Linked DNA regions of Homo sapiens: region 2 is linked to region 1. The links are contacts of gene promoters, found by promoter capture Hi-C in human tissues and cell types (Jung and others, 2019). All regions are on one chromosome and are shown on one strand. Each heading gives the region's core, a stretch centred on a gene start or on the middle of the fragment in contact. The rest is flanking DNA. Distances are from core to core; before and after follow the strand shown.

Evidence for each region. Contacts are between HindIII fragments. The study calls those that stand out against the background at their distance.
Region 2: a contact is called between a fragment that was not itself captured here and the fragment with the promoter of RSPO4 in region 1, in 4 of the 25 tissues and cell types used here (dorsolateral prefrontal cortex, mesendoderm cells, pancreas and 1 more).

What each region holds. Positions count from the first base shown.
Region 1 is chr20:997,282-1,003,560 of GRCh38, forward strand. RSPO4 (R-spondin 4) reads right to left here and starts at 5,030. Exons shown (of 5, transcript NM_001029871.4): 1 at 4,805-5,030. The coding sequence starts at 4,883. The HindIII fragment of the contact is 18,767 bases long and covers 1-6,279 here.
Region 2 is chr20:1,080,061-1,086,339 of GRCh38, forward strand. No RefSeq gene overlaps it. Among named protein-coding and RNA genes, the nearest start is that of PSMF1, 35 kb to the right of the region's middle. RefSeq lists a silencer at 6,251-6,279. The HindIII fragment of the contact is 3,614 bases long and covers 1,006-4,619 here.

The DNA of each region.
Region 1 (6,279 bases), core at 3,780-6,279:
AGGGAGGTGGGGCCCCCCGTGGTGGGGCAATGGGATGGAAAAGCAGCATCTCTTTTGCACCCAGGCTTGGCTTCAGAACGCTGAGTGGAAGAAGGATGGCAAATGGAGCTCAATTGATTGACCACCTACTATCTGCCAAGCATTCAGATTTCCATTTCTCAACCAGCCCCTATGCTATGAAGAAACCGAAGCCGAGAGACCCAAGGTTACATTCTATTAAGACTCAGCGCCATTCCCTCAGCCCTCAATGTCCAGTCATTACCCACCCCTGCCCTGTAGGAATCCCTTTCAGAACTACCCCTGCATCTAAACCTGGCTTCACCTGGATGCCAGCACTCAGGGGACATACTTTGTTCGTGCCCAGCGATGGCGCCTGCTTGCCCAGGGCCTGGTGCATCTGTCTGTGTACAGGAGACAGTGCTGTCTGCCTGGCCCTCCACAAGGGGCTTTGCAATTTAAACGGAAGCATCATATTCACTCCACATAACAGGCCTCTGGAGTGGGCACTGCCACAGTCAATTTACAATAAAGAAAAACAAGCTCAGAGAGAGGAGAAGGTTTGCTCCGGATGCACCACAAGCAAGAGGCAGAGGTGAGCTTAACCCACGTGAGACCCCACTCCCTTCCGGTCCAGGGCATGTCTGCTCTGCTGTAAAATGGGAAGGGAAAGTGGTCAAATCCTTATGAAGCCCCTACTGTGTGCCTTTGGCCCCCTTCCCTCTTGGACTGCAGTAAATCTTCCCAATTGCTCAGAGAGGTAGGTGTAAGTTTTCCCATTTCACAGATGGGGAAGCACGGACGGGAGAAGGCATGTGGCCTGCTTAATGTCACATATCTAGGGCAGGAGAGGGCTCAAGGTTTGATCCCAGGGCTCTTCACTTTGCCCCTTGCTTGCTCAGGTCTAGAAAGATCCAGAAGCTCCATGTGAATGTGGGGGTCCCTCCCCAGAAGGCCTTGGATGTCAGGGAAAGTCAGTCACAGGCTGGCATCTCCTCCTTGCCCAAATGGACCTCCAGATCTAGGGATGCGAACCAGGGCCCCCTCACTCTGCCCTACTGTCCCATTGCCAGGACACCCCAGCATGTTTCAAAAAAATGTCCCCATCTGGTTCTGATTCATTTACACTTCATTAATCAACATGCTGTTTTGTAAGAGACACTTGAGATCCAAGAATCTTTCTCAAGTCTTTTACTTCATTCTTTCTTAGAAACAGAAAAATTGGGCTTCATTAAGACGCAGTGACGCCGGAGCCTGAGGAAGGATGGGCCTGTGGGAACCAGGCCTCAAGCAGGCTCAGAGAGGGCAGATGCCAGCCCAGCACCTCATTCCTCGGGATTGTGCAGACCTGGCCAAACGCTAAGGCCAAAGACTCAGGCATGGGGGAGGCTGGAGAAAGGTGGGAAAGGGTCATCCCTCTATGTTGGCAGCTCCCCAAGGACAGGCCCAGGGCTGCTCACCTGGGTATCTCCAAGGTCCCCAACACAGAGCCTGGCACAGAGGCTGCCCTGTGAAATGAACAAGTGAATGAATGAAGCACTGCCAATACCCAGGTGTTTTCAGGACACATTCTCCTGCCAAAGTTAGATAAGGTCAAAGCTGGTAGGACCCTGAGGGATTGTGTACAGAATTTTCCAAGCAGATGCCTTATGAGAAATGGTCTCTGATGTGTAATATGTTTGGGAAAGGTCACTCTCTCTCGCTCTCTTTTTTTTTTTTTTTTTTTGAGACAGGGTCTGCTCTGTCGCCCAGGCTGGGGTGCAGTGGCACAATCACGGCTCACTGCAGCCTTGATGTCTTTCCTGGGCTGAAGCGATCCTCCCACTTCGGCTTCCTAAGTAGCTGGGACTACAGGTGTGCACCACCACCAACATGCCTGGCTATTTTTTGTATTTTTTTATAGAGACAAAAAATGTATTTTTTGTAGAGTTTTGCCATGTTGCCCAGGCTGGTCTCGAACTCCTGAGCTCAAGCTATCCTCCCATCTTGGCCTCCCAAAGTGCCAGGATTATAGGCTTGAGCCATCGCACCTGGGTTACACTGTCTGTCTCCACCTCTTCAGCATGCTCTGATAAGTCTCACAGCCAAGAAATCTGCTAAACCCAGCATTTCCCAATCTATTTGACCAGAACTCCTGTGGCTGCCTTGCAAAATATGCTACAGGAAGGGTTTATCTAGCTCTGGTCCCCACTGCAGTGCCAGTGGGAAACTGAGGCTATGGGCGGGGGACAGAGAAAATCCACTCACCCAAGGTCACATGATACAACTGGGTCAGGGGTGTGACTGAAATCCAAGGCTATCTCCATTGTACCCCAACAAATAAATGGAGCCCTAAGCCTCTTCTGAAGATGCTAGGCAGGTGTGTGTCCCAGAGGCAAGAGATCAGGTACTGGAGGAGGGATGCTGAGAGCCCCTCACCAAATTGCGGCCATATCCCTACCTCCTCACTGAGCTCCTGGGGAGGTGGTGGTGAGCTGTAGATGGGGCGGGGGGCAAAAGGGGCAGGATAGGAATTTTTCATTTTTCTTTAATTTTTTTGTCTTTTTTGAGCTGAGAAGCATCTTAAAGTCTTCTAAACCAGCTCCTTTTTGTTGTTGTTGTTGTTGTTGAGACAGAGTCTCACTCTGACACCCAGGCTGGAGTGCAGTGGCATGATCTCGGCTCACTGCAACCTCTGCCTCCTGGGTTCAAGCGACTCTCCTGCCTCAGCCTCCCAAGTAGCTGGAATTACAGGCGCCCGCCACCACACCCAGCTAATCATTGTATTTTTAGTAAAGACAGGGTTTCATCATGTTAGCCAGGCTGGTCTCAAACTCCTGATCTCAAATGATCCGCCTGCCTTGGCCTCCCAAAGTGCTGGTATTACAGGCGTGAGCCACCACACCTGGCCTAAACCAGCTCCTCTTTAGATGAGGAAACTGAGGCTCTGAGAAGGGAAGACCAGCACACCTCAGAAGATATCTTCTCAGCATTATGTCAGGCAGATTGGGATTCGAGCCTGCTTTGCTACTCACCTGCTGTGCGACCTTGGACAAGTCAGTTTCCTTCTCTGAACCTCAGTTCCCTCATCCAGAAAACAAGCATCTCTCCCCTCCCTCCACTAAGCCACTGTGAGTAGCCAAAGACACAGTGGACAGGAAATGAGAATGATTAATACTTACGAGCACCCATTAGGAGCCTGTGTCCTTAGCTACTCATCTTGCCCACAATCCTCCTTATGAGCAGGATACTTAAGTAAAAGATGGGTTGATGAAGGGAAAGGGGGTTTGTTTGATTTTTTGGTATTGTTTAGAATGGAGAAAGATCTCAGAGATCTTCTAAAGGACCCTCAGATGGGTAAAGTGAGGATTGGACAGGCAAAGTGACTTATCCAAAGTCACTCAGTTGGTAACTGGGGAAGCTGGGATTTGAACTCAGTTGACCTGGCTCCAGAGCCCATGCCCCTAACTACTAAACAAAGGCCATTCACAAAGGAGTGTCCCCATAGAGTCCCAAACTCACCCCAGCTCAGCTGAAAACCACACGCCTCTCTAGTCCCTTGTCCCACTGTCACAGCAAGAACTGGAGCCTCTTGGGCCACAGTCTCCCCAACCCCATCCAATCCCACCTCCCAATTCTCCCACAGCCTCTGTCTGCTTCCTGCTCCGTTCCAGGAGTGACTGTGTCGCTGTAGGGCTTTCACACAAATGGAAGGCCCCAGAGGGCAACCCATCCTCTCTCATTTTCCTTCCCCTTTATCCTTGCTCAGACCCGATGCCAGGGCTGGAAAGAGAGAAGACACCAGCTGGACAATTCAGCAGTTATTTAAACCAGTCTGAGCCTTGGAATCCCAGGCTTTATTAAAACTGGACGACCCCTATGTCATGAGCATATAGTTGGGATTTGATGAGCTAGGACATGAAAAACCCGTGGCATAGTGGCTGGCATTCGGCTGCTGATCTTAAGAGTGGCACCTGGAGGCCAAAGGGCTGCCCAGCTCAGGCAGGCGATTTGCTCACTTGCTCACCCGCTTACCCTTCTCTGAGGCACAGGCTCTACCAACTCCTGCTCTGCAGGGACAGCCTCCAACCCACCTTCTGAGGATGTTCTGACTCTCACAGCGAGGCTGTGGCATAGGACTCCCAGGTGAGAGCGCATGCGGCCCCTGGTACATTTATAATCTGAACCTTGGCTCATCTTCCTAGTGGCCTGAGAGGTGAAGATGGAAAAGCTGAGGCTCTCTGAGGGGCTGGACTTCTTCTAGGTCATCCCCTATTAGAATAAGTGAACCTGAACTCAGGTCTCAGGTCTGGCTGAACTCAACATAGGGGGGCCATGGAGGATCACTGCCCTCTGGGAGGTGACACCAGGAGTCAGGGTGAGTGATGAGGCTGGGACTGGGGCCTCTGGACGCCCAGCCCAAGGCTCTCTATGTCACTTCCTGGCCGAGCATGGATGCTTGGAATGGCTTCTACGCCACTGAGTCTGTCTCCTAGTCCCTGTGCCCCGCAGGCTGGCTCTTGAGTCTTCTGTCTCTGCACGAAGCCATCCTCCTTTCTGCTGACCATGCGGCTACTACAGAGAGCCCTGCTACCCTCTCCCTTCTGGGTGAGTCTCCTTGGCCCACCCTACTCAATGGCTCGCTCACTGGGTGCCCTGGAGCCTCAATCTCCCCATCTTAAGTGAGGTTGAGACTCGTCTGGAGGAGCGAAGGACCCAGGGCGCCAGGCACCAGGCAGATGCCCCCAGAGCCGCCGCCCCCGGTCCTCCGGCCCCCGGTCTGCCCCGCAGCGCCTGCCCGGCCGCCCTGCCCAGCCACCCCTTGTACCTTGCTTCTTCCTTCGGTTCAGGGCGAGCATGTCCACGGCGTGGGCGACGAGCAGGAGCAGGCAGAGTGGCGCCCGCATCTGGGCAGCCGGATCCGGGCTGGCGCTCCCCAGGCGGCCCGACGGCCCAAGGGCCCCACGTCCCGGCGGCGGCACGGCGGGCGCGGGGGCTGCTGTGGGCGCGCCGGGCGCATCCGCCAGGCGCGGGTCGGTCCGGCCGCCAGGTCTAGTGAGGGCGTTGGCGGAGCCGGGGCACTGCCCTGGCGGGGAGGAGCCGGCGCGGCGGGGGCGGCGCGTTAACCAGCTCGGGGCCCGGGAGCGCGCGCGGGGAGGGGGCGGGGGTCACCCGGGTCGGGGCCCTCGAGTTCGATCTGTCCCGCAGCCGGCGGTCTTGCGTCTTTCCCGCCCCCAGCACTGCCCCCGAGCACGTGCACGTGCCCACCGCCAGCCACAGGTACGCACGCGCGCGCAGGTACAGATGCGCGGACACCCGGAGACCCGTACGGTCCCCCGCGCCCTCTCAGCGCCTGTGATTTTCTTTCCCTCCCCCCAGTCCCCTTTCTCTGTCTGTTCCTCCTTCTGGCCCTTAAGGACAACTCCTTGTCTCCTGCTTTCTCGGTCTTTCCGCGGCCCGCGCTCCCCTGCTCTGCCCCCGACCCTGCCTGGCTGTTCCTGCATCCTTTACTCTTGCCGGCCGTCTCTCTCTCAGGCTCACTGTCTGTGTCCTCCTGGCTGGGCCTCTGGTTCTCCCTTTTCTCTGTCTCTCCCTTCAACCCCATCTCTCCCCTTCTCCCCTCCTGCAGGGTGGGGTGTTTGCGGGGCTCCTGCTGCCTGGCTTTCTCTTTTTCTCTCTACTCTGTCTCATTCTTTTAACAGAGGCCTGAGCCCCTTCTGGCCACTAACCCTGAATGTTTCCTGTGCAGTCTGCGGGGATCATCTACTCCGACTCAAAGTGACCAGCACCTCATAAATCCACTTGTGACAGGGCTGGGGACCTGGACTGTGTTTCCTCCAACCTTATCACCAGGACTGGGAGCAGCTGGTTCAAGTTTAACCCTTTCAGAGCAAAATTCCTCCTTCAACCCGACAGCATGCTCACCTCTCCTGTCACTATAACCACCAAAAACAACAACAATCATGCTAGCTATCATTTGTGAGGCATATATGGTGGGCATTGCTAAGAACTTGACATATACTAGAGTCTTCAAAACAACCCAATGGTTTGGGTTTGTATTCTGAGTAATTCCACTTTTCTGGGGAGCAAAGGGAAGCTCAGAGAGGCCAAGTGACTTGCCCAAGGCCACACAGCAGGTCAGTGGCCATTCTGGTCCAGTGCCTGCCCCTCTTAGCCACTTCTCAGGCACAGACTCATCAGAATGGAAGAGGCCTTGGAGGGAGGCCTAGAGAAACTTACAGTTGACACTCTCTTGCTGAACAATTGTCCTTCCTTTTTCTTTTCTTTTTTTTTTCTTTTTTT
Region 2 (6,279 bases), core at 1,563-4,062, 81 kb after region 1:
GGGGCCAAAGCAGACAGGCCATCTATATCCCTTCTCAAGGGGGTAACTCTGACTAATTTTTGCTAAACAAGGATGAAAACCCAGTATAGCCAGATTTATTTTATTTTTCATTCAAAGTCAGAAATTCAGGTTTGCATGTGAAAGCTCCCAACTTTAAATGTTGGCATGAAAATCAGATTTTAGAAGCACTATTTTCCAGTTAATATTTCCATGTAACAAATCACCCCAGATTTAGTGACATCAAGCAACCATTTTATGATGTCCATGGATTCTTCGTGTCAAGTTTGGACAGGGCAAGTGGGGACGGCTTCACTCAGCTCCATGGTGTGTGGGGCTTCAGCTGGGAAGATTCAAATAGCTGGAGCTAGAATCATCGAGAGGCTTCTCTACTCAGATATCTGCTCTCTGGGCTGGGATGACTCAAAGGCTGGACTCGGCTGGGACTGTCCACTGGGGCACCTACACATGGCTTCTCCATGTGGTCTGAGCTTCCCACAGCATGGTGGCTGTGTTCTGAGACGAAGTGTCCTGAGCGTGGGAGCTGCAGATGAAAGCTGCATGGCCTTTTATGGCCTGGCTTCAGTTCCATAGTGTCACTTCTACCATACTCTACTGGTCAAGCAGCCACATACCCACCCAGATCCAAGGGAAGGGGAGCACAGACTTCACCTCTTGATGGAAGAGCATCAATGAATTTGCAGCCATTTATAAAAGCACCACACACTGTGTGGGCCACACCAAATGGGTCTGCAGGCTGGATTTGGCCAGAACATTGCTGGCAGCATCTCTGAAGGGTGGAAGTAGACTATGGCCCAGCTCACATAGTGAAGTGAGGTAGCAACATCCCCAGAATATGTATATGGGTATGGGGCCAAGACAGAGGGTGCCTGCCTGGGTGGGCTGCCACTGGAGCAAACGGCCATGTGGGACTGCTGGTCCAGACACCAGCATTCTGCCTGCTCACAGCCTTCCTCTCCCCTGACCACAGACATGGGCCCATCCCAAGCTACAGCCTGACCCCAAAACACATCTTCGCCATGGCTGAGTCATCCTCTTCCTCAGGGACCCAAAGCCCCAACCATGGTCCCTTCTTCTTCCTCTCTAGGAGGACATTTTTTTAAGTCCTTGCACCTAAAGGGCTGATCTCACTCTTTTTCTAGGTGCCATAGACTCAATGTGTCCATCCAAAATTCATATGTTGAAACCTAATCTCCAATGTGATGGTGTGTGGAAATGAGCCCTTTGGGAGATAAAGCCCTTATAAATGGGGTTAGTGCCCTTATGAAAGAGGTCCCAGGGAGATCTCTTGTCCCTTCTGCCATGTGAGGACACAGTAAGAAGACTATGAACAAGGAAGAAGGCCCTCACCAGACACCAAATCTGCCAGTGCCTTAATCTTGGGCTTCCAACCTCTAGAACTATGAGAAATAAATTTCTATTATTTATTTATAAGATAGCCAGTCTATGGTAGTTTGTTCAAGCAACATGAACAGACTAAGACACCAGGCAATCTGTCATAAGTGCCTCTGATGGGCCCAAGTGTTCCCAAGTTGGAAATACCTTCCTTACGCATCACTGTCTCAGAGGTGATCCCTAGAAGAGTGCACAGGAAAGAATATGCAAGGGAAACAAGGATAGCCAATGCACTTTTATGTAATACACACAATGACCCTGTGAAGCAATTATTCCAGTTTAAGAGATGAAAAAACTGAGTTTCACGGAAAATCCAAAACTTGCCAGGGACACCCAGGAAAATGGGTGGTTTCATACTAGGTGGAACTGGGGAATTGGCTTCAAAGTGCAAGTGAGCAGGACAAGAGAAGACCAGCTTGCTTAGACTGGAGGAGGTAGGTTAGGCAGAAGTGAGGTAGGCCAGGTGGGACCAAACGCTAAAGAGCCCTGCAAGTGCCACAAAGTGTCATGAACTTAATGAGTCAGGCAGTAGGGAACCATTCAAGGTTCTCGAGCTGAGGGATAACTTCACTAATTATGGCCAATGATGATGCAAGCAATTTCTTACAGAGTGCTTTATTTTGCAGATCTCCTTTTCCATGCGTTTCCTCATTTGTTTCCCACCTGTGTGGTTAGGCTCCCCATTTGCCATATGAGCAAAGTAAGAGTCCCAGAAGTTACAATATGACAAAATTACTACTAGCAAAGCCAACACAGGATGCAAGCCTCCTCCCTCCACACCCCAGTGAAGGGCAGTGGGGACTGCACGATACAGTGGGCATCTGCCATTCATTCTGGCCACCTAGCATCATTCTCCTTCAGCCCTTCGTTCCCTTTAGGGAACTCTCCCCCTACCTCTCCAAATGATTTTAATGGGGCTGTCAATCATGTGGTCCTATGCAAGAGTGAGCACCAGGCCAGGCTGACCAATTAGAGTCCTTCTCAGGGATTGACATGGATGCTCGGGGAAAGACAGTCTCAGGTTTTCTCTAGGGTTGCCAATGGCAATGAACCTCTGACAACTATCCTTTTGTCATATGGGGAATATCTGCTTGAGAATGACGTGAACAAACAAGACACCCAAGCTGAGAGATAAAGGTAGGAAGAGTGCACCTAGGACACCAATAAGATCCTACAGATTCAGCCATGTCTGGGTTTCTCAGTTTTGAAAAACACTTTGATTGGTTTTGTCACACGCACCTGAATCAGCCCTTGGACCTAAGCTTTATTTAGAAGTAAAATGGACTTGGGCTCTCTGTAAACCACAATTTCTTCATTTATCAAATAATAATAATCGGCTGGGCATGGTGGCTCACTCCTGTAATCCCAGCACTTTGGGAGCCCTAGGTGGGCAGATCATTTGAGGTCAGGATTTCAAGACCAGCTTAGGCAACATGGTGAAACCCCATCTCTACTAAAAATACAAAACTTAGCTGGGCATGGTGGTGCGTGCCTGTAGTCCCAGCTACTCAGGAGGCTGAGGCACAAGAATCACTTGAACCCAGGAGGCAGAGGCTGCAGTGAGCCGAGATCACGCCACTGCACTCTGGCCTGGGTGACAGAGTGAGACCCTGTCTCAAAAAAAAAAAAAAGAAAAAAATGAGAGAATAATCAAAATAGCAACTTAGCAACTTAGAGAGTTTCTGGAGAATTAAATATACTTCATAAACTGTGAGGTACCAAGAAAAGAAAAGAAAACTGTATTGAGGGACATGAAGGCCTAAGTAAATGGTGAAATATGGCAAATTCATGGATGAGATGTCTCAATATTATAAATATGATCATTTTCTTCGCTATTTAATTTACAATATAATCCAATTTTAGACAAAACTAAATTAATGAACAATGCAAATTAGGCAGTATTTTAAAACAGGGTGGCTATTTTCAAAATGACAGTGTTAATATTTTTAAGTTGAGGTGCCATTATGCTGAGATAGCTCCAGTGCTTTGGGTTCCTATGTAAGCAAATCAAAGCCTAATGTAAACCGTAAAATGATCCTGGAGACTTAGCTAATTTGAAACCGCCAACTAACCTCTAGGGACTTTCCACCAGATCGTGCCCAAATAAGGCAAACACCTACTTGTAGCCAGTCAAGCAATGTCTTTGCTTTGCTTCCACATTCACCCTATAAAAGCCTGCAGCTCAACTGCTAAAGTGGAGCTCTCTGAACCTCTTCTAGCTCTGAGTACTGCCCAATTCATGAATCACTTTTTTGCCCAAATAAACTCTGCTAAATTTAATTTGTCTAAAGTTTTTCTTTTAACAACAGAATGGACCGTATTTTTAGTTCCCAAAGCTCTCTCTTGCTCCCTATAAGAGAATTATACTTCCTGTGCCATTGACATCAGGCCTGGACATGTGACTTACTTTGGCCAATGATATATGACCTGAGTGAGGTAATGCCACTTCTAAGCAGAAGCCTTAAGAGCCACCACGTTTCCACTGTGGCTTTTCTCTGCCTTCCACCAGAATAGTGTATTCCAAATAGGGTTGTTTTATCAGCTGGGTCCCAGGAAGAAGAGGATTTGGCCAGAGCTGCAGCCAGTCCTGAGTGTAAGGTGAATAAGAAATAAATATTTGTTGTTGTAAGCCAGGGAGATTTGACGGTTATTAGTTATGCCAGCATAACTTAGGGAAACTGACTAACACAGAAGTATAACCTAATGAATTGACAAAATGCTGCCATTTTTATGCTTCATTAAAACATAAATGAAAACTTTTTGTAAAATAGTACCTAGATGCTTTACATTGGTTTCTCATTGTTCTGCTAAACATGAGCATTCCCAAAAATGTTTACAATAATTTATATTTTTAAAAAAGCATTTTGTGAGCAAAACAAGCTTGGGGAAATGCTGCAGGTCACTGTCTTTCTCATGAGATTCATCCCTCATATTAGCATATTAAAGTCTCTGCAAAGTCCTACAGTAAAGAAACCTTTACTAACTCAGTATTTCTTGAAGTTATTTGGTGATGAACCTCAGCCCACCAATTAACATGTCATGAGAGATGAGGATACAGGTTTTTCTCAAAATGAGTATTTTTCTCTCAGCTATCATGGATTTAGCACTAGGTGCATGTATTATTTAAATCCTATAATGACCCCTCTGAGAGAGGCATCATCAGTTCCCATTTTATATCTGAGAGAAAATAAAGGCTAGGAGAGAGAAATTGACTTGCTCAGAAAAACCACAGCAAAAATATAAATGAATGAATAAATGAATGATGGAGCCAGGACTTGAATCACAAGTCTGGCAATAAAGACCAAGCTCTTAACCTACCTTCCTCTTGCCTCCAAAATCAACTCCTGGATTCTGGAGCTAATGATGAAAGCCCTTCATCAGTTGAAACCACAGTACCTACCCAATCCAATCCTCTCCATTTTACTCCACACCACACCTCCTCATTTTCCACTTACCATCTTTTTGGCCATTTGTTTCTCACTAAGGGCATTCCTTCCTGCCACCATCCTAACACATCTTTTCCATCCTTAAGCTTTAAGTCTTAACTTATGATCCCTCGTCCAAGAAGCCTCCCTTGATTACTTTTCCCCCAGCAAACTTTCTCTGATATTACGTGTATAGATAGTGGAGCAGAACATTTCCCTGAGATGCAAATTTTCAGATACCCTCTCAGACCTACTAAATCAGAAACTCTGGAGATAGGAATCAGAAATCTGGACTTTAACAAGCCCCCCACGTAAGACAATGATGTACTTCAAGTTTAAGAACCATGTTGGTCTAAGCCAACCATGTTGGTTCCTTTCCCTGACTAGCAATTAGCTTAGTAAGAGACATTGGACCAAGTTCTGGACAGAGATGTGAGAGGAATAGGCAAGAAAGGGGCATATGGGGGAATTTCCTCACTCTAATAAGAGACATACTGAAAAAGGCTATACCCATTAAGGTGTTTTTTATTTCAAGCAGTAAAAAATCTAGCTAACATAGGCTTAAATAAATAGAAATTTTATCCTTCTCATTTTCAAAAAATCTAGAGGTTGACAGTGACTGTGATGCTAGTCATCACAGGCTCAGCAATGTCTGTGATTTTCTTGGCCTCTCCTTCTGAATACAGGATGGCTGCCACAGTTCAGGCATCACATCATATTCCAGGCAGGAGGAGGAGGTAGGGAAGGCTGCTGCAAGCAATGTCTGTTTCTCTTATCAGGAAAGTAGAGGCTTCCACTCATTTCTCATTGGCTGGAATTGGCCATGTGGCCACTTCTGGCAGTAAAGTGGATATTCAACTTTTCCAGCCTCCTTAATGAAGACAGGCAAGGAAGGGTTAGGGCTGATATGGGGCAAGCATATCCAAAGCGTCTTCCTCACTGAGATCAGTTCTAGCTTCTCGTAGCTAAAAAGCTTCCTGACAGGAAGTGTTACCGGTTTCTTTCTCAGTAGTTGGGGGGAATTAATAAAATAGTGTATGATTTAGGCCCAGGGTGGTCTCAAAAACGAGATAAGGATTCACCACGATTGGTATGAACTTCTCCAGCATGACTCTCCACTTCTCTTATCTGTCTTTATGTTTTCTACAGAATCATTCATCTGAGAATATCAGGGACATGGGCCCTTAGAATTCACCAACAGAGTGAGCAAGGGAGAATGGTTCTGGTTCTGAAGTGAGAGAGACCCAGGGTTAACTTTTGGTCTGTCACTTCTACCTCTCTGAGCCTCAATTTCCTCTTCTGTAAAATGGGGTTAATGAAAGCCCGCATCTCCCCCAGGGCAGATATGAGGATGAAATAAAGTTCACCATATAAAGCAATGAGCTCAGTGCCTAGTACTAAGATAGGTGCTCAGTGAACCGGTACCTATTACTGTCATTTC